Linked DNA regions of Homo sapiens: region 1 is linked to region 2. Evidence: promoter capture Hi-C in 16 types of primary human blood cells and fetal thymus (Javierre and others, 2016). All regions are on one chromosome and are shown on one strand. The core of a region is centred on a gene start or on the middle of the fragment in contact, and the rest is flanking DNA. Distances in the headings are between cores, read along the strand shown. Region 1 overlaps HECA (hdc homolog, cell cycle regulator). Region 2 holds the start of TNFAIP3 (TNF alpha induced protein 3).

Region 1 (3,263 bases), core at 583-3,082, 1.3 Mb after region 2:
CACTTACTAGCTGAATGGCCTTGGGCACATCACCAAAGGAGCCTTCCTGTGCTCAGAAAGAGTATGTGGAATCTGGACTAAAGTGATTGTCCTATTTCTATTCTGTGAAACTTTGATACTTTTAAGAAACATTTAGGATAAACTATGACACTATTATCTTCATCCTGATGTTCAGCCTAAACCAGGCATATTCTGGGTCCGTATTCTTTTGGGTCTTGACGTGTCTTCTATTAGACAAGGAAAATATGAATCTTCTACTTTATAGTCATTATTGATGTGATTTCTTACTGAGATCAGAGCGTCAGAGCCAGAATGGAAATAACAGGTAAAATAGAAACCTAGAGTTTTTTATTTAGTTTGAATTTGAGGCTGGGTAGACTTGTGGGTTTTAATTTCAAAGTAAGAAAAGGGTGGGTCTAGGAGAACAGACTAAATATATTAAGAGAATGTTAAAAACCCAAGTTGTAAACTGTATTGAAGCATTGGATGTGTGTGTGTGTGTGTGTGTGTGTGTAGCTTCCATGTTTATTTTGACAGAGTGGTTTGCCTGAGTAAAAGCTTTTCGTTTAAATCCTACTGTAAGCAAAGAAAAACATGTTTAACTGAATGTAATTGCCTTGTGCTCAATTTGCTACTCACTTTGGAGCAGGTTCACACACTAAAATAACATAAGGGGAGGTTAAATTACATCAAAGGTTAAGACAGATAAGCTTAAGTGATCTCATTGTAGCTCCTATACTAATTAAAACAAGTTGACAAAATATTTTTGTAAGTACTAGCCTTCCTTTATGTGTAGTGCTTAGTGTCTTTATTTTTAGTAGAAAAAAGGTCTTAAAAATATTTGAGGAAATTTATATTAAAACCTTTTGAGTTTTCATTTAAATAATACTTGCCGGTTAATCAGGAAATGATTCTTTAAATTTCTTTTTATTTTTAATTTTTGTGGGTACATAGTAGTATATAGGAAATGATTCCTAAACACCCTGTGAATTTGAGGCACAGTGTGGAGCATCAGTGGGCTGCAGTTAGCTTCTTTGTCCACTCCTGTGTCTTACCTAATTTCCATGTTACAGCCACAGGAATGGGCCAAGGCTGAAGCAGAGACTTTACCCTAGCTGGTGATCAGATGGAAAAGCAAGGCTGGGGCCTAATTACAGGAGCTCCTTGAACATGACCCAAGAACTTGGAGCATTAGTCTGAGTTTCTGAGGTTTCTGAATGTGTGTATGATGTGATCATAGTCAAGTTTTCAGAATGCCGATCTGAAGGTATTAATCAATCAAACTTTTTTTTGCTGTGTATCTCCTAAGAGAATTAGAAAAAAAACAGGGTTCTTGTAAATTTTTAAGTTGTCACACCCAGTTTTCTAAAGACTTAAATAGATGCTGAGGATACAGTTTCCAGTTCATTGTAAACATTGTAATTTATGCAAACAGAATCCTAATTATCGTAGTAACTTGGTAACCATTATCATCCATTTAAAAAATAATGTAATTTTTTTTTTTTTTTGAGAGGGAGTTTTGCTCTCGTCGCCCAGGCTGGAGTGCAGTGGCGCGATCTCGGCTCACTGCGGTCTCCGCCTTCCAGGTTCAAGTGATTTTTCTGCCTCAGCCTCACGAGTAGCTGGGATTACAGGCACGTGCCACCATGCCCATCTAATTTTTGTATTTTTAGTAGAGACGAGGTTTCGCCATGTTGGTCAGGCTGGTCACTCCTGACCTCAGGTGATCCTCCCGCCTCAGCCTCCCAAAGTGCTGGGATTACAGGTGGGAGCCACCGCACCCGGCCTAAAAAAATAATAGAAATTTTACATTCTTTTCTTTATTTCCATTCAGTTTGTACTCAGAATTTGATCCTAAGACAGGGTATTGTCCTGCTTAGAAGTATTTTATTGATCATCCTATCATATTTTCCTATAACAAAATATACATATAAACTTTTAAATTTTTATTAAGATGGACTTCTGAGATGGCAGAGTAAGGGCCTCCAGAAATTTGCTCCTCCATGAAAGCAATAAGAACACTGCCAAGAATTACCAAAATTAACTTTTTCAGAACTCTGGAAATTAACCAAAGGCTTACAGTAATTCTAAGAGTGTTCTTTCAAGAGAAATGACTGAATCATAATAAAAACAGTGAGCTGTGGTGTTTTAACTTGGTTAGTACCTCCCCCTTTCCCTAGCTCTGTGGTATCAGAGCAATGTAATTGCTATGTAAATAGTTGTTATACTGTATTTAGGGAATAATGACAAGAAAAATAAGCCTGTGTATGTTCAATACAGACACAACCATCTGTTTTTTTTCCATGAATATTTTCCATTGACAATTGGTCAAATCCATGGATGTGGAACCCACAGATATAGAGGACAGACTGCATATGAATGGGGTGGAGAGGGAGTCTTAGCTACCTGGAGAATGTGTGCTGCACCAAAACAGCATTCTGATTCACATTCCAAAAAAAAACTCTGGACTGGTTTACTAAGACACAATGCAGGCCAAACTGCCCCATTGGAACTCTGATCTAGGGGATATATAGACATCATATCACCTATTATCAGTTGAGCTTTTAGAATATTTTGAACAGCAGGGAGTTGTGAGTTGTATTTTCTAACCGGTAACTGGTCTACGGATGACCCGTGTTGCCAGTTAATCATGCAGTCTTATGCTTTACCTGTTGGGCAGACAAGGGAAGGGGTAAAGTCATTAGTCTTTTCAGCAGAGGTCATTGGGATTTCAGAGGTAAGGGGAAGGGGCCAAATCGGCCATGGCCTTTGGCCTCCAAATACCATTTTGGGGCTCATCAAGAGAGAAGAAGCAGGTCCAGCATTTACACTGCGTTGTAATTTACATGGTAAATGAAAATCACATAGATAAACTATGAGTAAAGAGGTTTGAGTATTGCCACATTTTGAATATTTGTGCTGACAAAGGAGGACATTAATATGGATAATCAAAATCAAGCTTATTTTCCTAAGCAAGGATAATATTGGAATACAGTACTAAAGACTGACATGAAGTCTTTAAAAATAGGATTGTTTAACAACTGGTTGGACAGTTTCTCCGCAGTTGTATATATACAGTCATGCATTGCTTAATGACAGGGATACATTCTAAGAAGTGTGTCATTTGGCGATTTCATCATCAGGCGTACATCATAGAGTGTACTTATACAAAGTATAGCCTACTACATACGTAGGCCAGATGGTATACCCTGTTGCTTCTGTGCTACAAACCTGTACAGCAGGTTCGTTGAATACTGTAGGCA
Region 2 (3,359 bases), core at 463-2,962:
GCTGTTTTGAGAGGCTGGGAGACAGGACACCAAAAGAGTACCTGTCTCACAGGATCTTTCCTGAGAGGAATGGTCTAGTAAGACTGGTCATTATGGGCTTTGGAGTAACACAGGCTTAATGCCACTGGCGACTCTGCCCCTTTTGGTTGTGGAAACTGGGCAAATGCCTCAAGCTTCTTAACCTTCATATAAAAAGCATATATAAGCATATAGCAAGTACTTGATAAATGTCATTTTAGACCCTGTCATTTCTGCTAGCCCTGGACTCCAGCAAGGTCCATTTACAATGGATAGCTGACTATCCATTGTTTGAATGTTGATAGCACATTTGTGAACAAGAAGAGAGGACAAATAACAAGAGGTTTGGAACTGGAAGAAATTCCAGCCATCGGTTTTAAAAGACGAGGACCAGTCTTCAGAGAGGCCACTAGTGACACTCTGCTCCAAACTTCTTTTTGCCAAAAAAGTGCCACCCTCCATCCAGCCCCCACCCCCATCTCTGCAAGTCCTTACTGGCGAGAGGAGGATACTTTTCTAATTAAAAACCTGTGATATATGGCCTGACAAGTATTCTTAAATGTAATTAAGGGGACCATAGTACAGAATATTTCCATCCGGTTCTAGTTTAGCCAATCTAGTAAATGATCCAAAGGGTCCCGTGCTTAGAGGGCAGTAAGACAGTAAAAACGCCCTAAGACTCCTCCCTGCACAGCACCTGCACCCCCACTGCCCAGGGGGCTGCATCCATCTCCACATGACTCACCCTCCCTGTGCAACGCATGGGGGTAGGGAGGGAAGCGCCAGTATTATCAGCCATCAGCACCCTGGGGTGAACTGATTATCAGGACAACTAAAAACACACCTAATAAAGCCTTGGAGACACATGGCAAGCACCGTGATGGACTAGAAGCGATTTCTAAGCTGAAATGCTGCTTTGAATGCAATGTCAGCTGGATGCTTGGTGAGCAGAAATAGACAAGGGGAAATGGAGCAAGCGCGGCATAGGGGTGAGTGTTGTTCTGATTCCTAAGTTTACCTAAGACTGGGGCCACGGGGTCGGGTGTCCCCTGGGACCTACGTCTCATGCAGCCTGGGGTCCAGAGCTGGCAGGAACAATGGAGATGGGGACCAAAGGCTGTCACCGCTGCTTTTTCTCGAAATGCCCGCCCGGGTCCTGTCTGGGGCTCCCGCCTACGCGCTCATCACGTGCACAGCCCAAACTTTTCAGAGCCGGCCCGAGGCCTGCGGGCCCGGGCGCCAGGGTGGTTTTTAGGGTTTTCTTTCTTTCTTATTTCCCTTCTTCTTCTCCACAGTTGATGATTTTCTGCAGAAAAACAACTGCGAAAAAGAACCTATTTCATTTCCAGTTCCCATCACCGCGATTTCCACATGGATGTGACGTGACCCCAGCTTCCGAAATGCCCAGGTGACTCACGCGGGGACACCCCGGGGCGGGGCGAGGGAGTTTCTCCGGGCGCCTGCAGGGACCGGGCGGGGCGGGGCAGCGGGGCGGGGCAGGGAAAGGGGGCGGGGCGGGGCCCGCAGGCCCGGTCGGGCGGAGGCCGCGCGCGCCCCTCGCCCCCTGCGCCCTCTGGCGGCCGGCTGGACGCACTTCGCAGCCCGACCCAGAGAGTCACGTGACTTTGGAAAGTCCCGTGGAAATCCCCGGGCCTACAACCCGCATACAACTGAAACGGGGCAAAGCAGACTGCGCAGTCTGCAGTCTTCGTGGCGGGCCAAGCGAGCTTGGAGCCCGCGGGGGCGGAGCGGTGAGAGCGGCCGCCAAGAGAGATCACACCCCCAGCCGACCCTGCCAGCGAGCGAGCCCGACCCCAGGCGTCCATGGAGCGTCGCCTCCGCCCGGTCCCTGCCCCGACCCCCGCCTGCGGCGCGCTCCTGCCTTGACCAGGACTTGGGACTTTGCGAAAGGATCGCGGGGCCCGGAGAGGTAACCGCCGCGCCTCCCGGAGAGGTAACCGCCGCGCCTCCCGGAGAGGTAACCGCCGCGCCTCCCCGTGCCGTCTGCCTCGGGCTCACCGCAGTCAAGGGCTGCGGGTGCATGTTGGGCAGCGACCCCCGGGCTGGCACCGTCTACCTGGCGTTGGTTTTGCAGCGCTCCTGGACTGGGAGTTTGTTGGACGTTTCTGTCTGGGTTTTGAAGTGCTGGGAGTTGAGGTCACTGCTGCAGAGGTTGGAGTGACAGCCCTGGATACCTCCAGCCAGCTGTTCCTTTCAGATAATGCACGGAACTTAAGCTGCAGCTGACTGGTGAAGAGGCGCCCCTCGGGCCCTCCGATCGGGTGGTCGTTGGCGCTTTGCTCCTTTCGTGTCTTTTTTGGAGCCAAGCGTTGCATGCTCATGGCCACGTAGACCTTGCAGAAGCGCTGCGGCTTTTTCCCAAATTGTGCAGGACCAGCCCGACGGGGCGTAGGGTACCGCAGTGGCCGCCAGCCCGGCGGAGGTGGGGGGCTTCAGTCCCAGAGACAGCTTCCCAGACGCTCACGGGTCCTTGCAGGGGGCTGGGGTCCTGGCGCGGGGTTCAGCTTTTCCAGTAGCAGCAGTGTAAGAGAAGTATGCATGTAGACGTGGGTCGCTGGCCCCTGCTCCAGCCCCTACCCCACGGTTAGACTGTCTTTGTCAGCTGGAGTCGTCCCACATCCTGCCACCTGGCCTCTCAGAAAAGCAGTGGCATTAAGTAAGGAAGGAGCTTAACTCTTTTTGAGCCCGCTTTGTTTTCGGTTCTCCTCGCCTCAGATCTTCTTGCCTTGGAAAGCCAGTCTGGTCAAGTGTCTCAGGGTAGCATTTTGGCAGAACCATTGTTAATTAAAGGGACTTCTGGACCGCAACCTTAATGTACCAGATTATTGAGCAGCCAATGAATGCTTCATTCTCATTGTTTAAGGTGCTGCTTTGATTTTTTTTTCAATTCTTTGTACTATTTTTGATTTTTTGGAGAGGCACATCCCCAAATTTGGATGAGGTATTTGTTGATAAATAATTCATCAATTTCCACAATGCAGACAAAAATGTCTGCCCAGAGTGGAAAAATAAAACAAGGGGGAGAAGAGTTTGAGTAACGGAGAAGTTCTGTGGAATCCTAGTGACAAAAGTTGAGAAACTACCTTTAAATAAGACAGTGAGGTAACAAATGTTAAAAAAAAAAAAGTTAAGGGTAATATTGCATTGTTTGCCACTTATAACGTATCTGAAACATTTGTTCTTTAATCTTAAGCGTAGAGTGGTCCAAGACCTGGAAATCTGGGCAGTGGGTTTTGATTTCTAAGGAGGCAGTTTTACAGGCTGTGCAAGGCTAACCCTACCAATGAGATCACACTGGCGTATCCGATATTGACATTTGC

Evidence for each region. Contacts are between HindIII fragments. The CHiCAGO score rates a contact against its expected background, and 5 or more counts as called.
Region 1: a contact is called between a fragment that was not itself captured here and the fragment with the promoter of TNFAIP3 in region 2, in 1 of 17 cell types (activated CD4 T cells). The highest score is 5.6, in activated CD4 T cells.

Annotation. Positions count from the first base shown.
Region 1 is chr6:139,151,932-139,155,194 of GRCh38, forward strand. All of the region lies in intron 1 of HECA (hdc homolog, cell cycle regulator), which reads left to right. Among named protein-coding and RNA genes, the nearest start is that of HECA, 18 kb to the left of the region's middle. The HindIII fragment of the contact is 2,249 bases long and covers 709-2,957 here.
Region 2 is chr6:137,865,547-137,868,905 of GRCh38, forward strand. TNFAIP3 (TNF alpha induced protein 3) reads left to right here and starts at 1,713. Exons shown (of 9, transcript NM_001270508.2): 1 at 1,713-1,996. WAKMAR2 (wound and keratinocyte migration associated lncRNA 2) reads right to left here and starts at 2,687. Exons shown (of 4, transcript NR_049793.1): 1 at 2,096-2,687; 2 at 1,037-1,338. RefSeq lists an enhancer at 1,250-1,389 and silencers at 1,470-1,609, 1,850-2,019, 2,160-2,259. The HindIII fragment of the contact is 5,781 bases long and covers 172-3,359 here.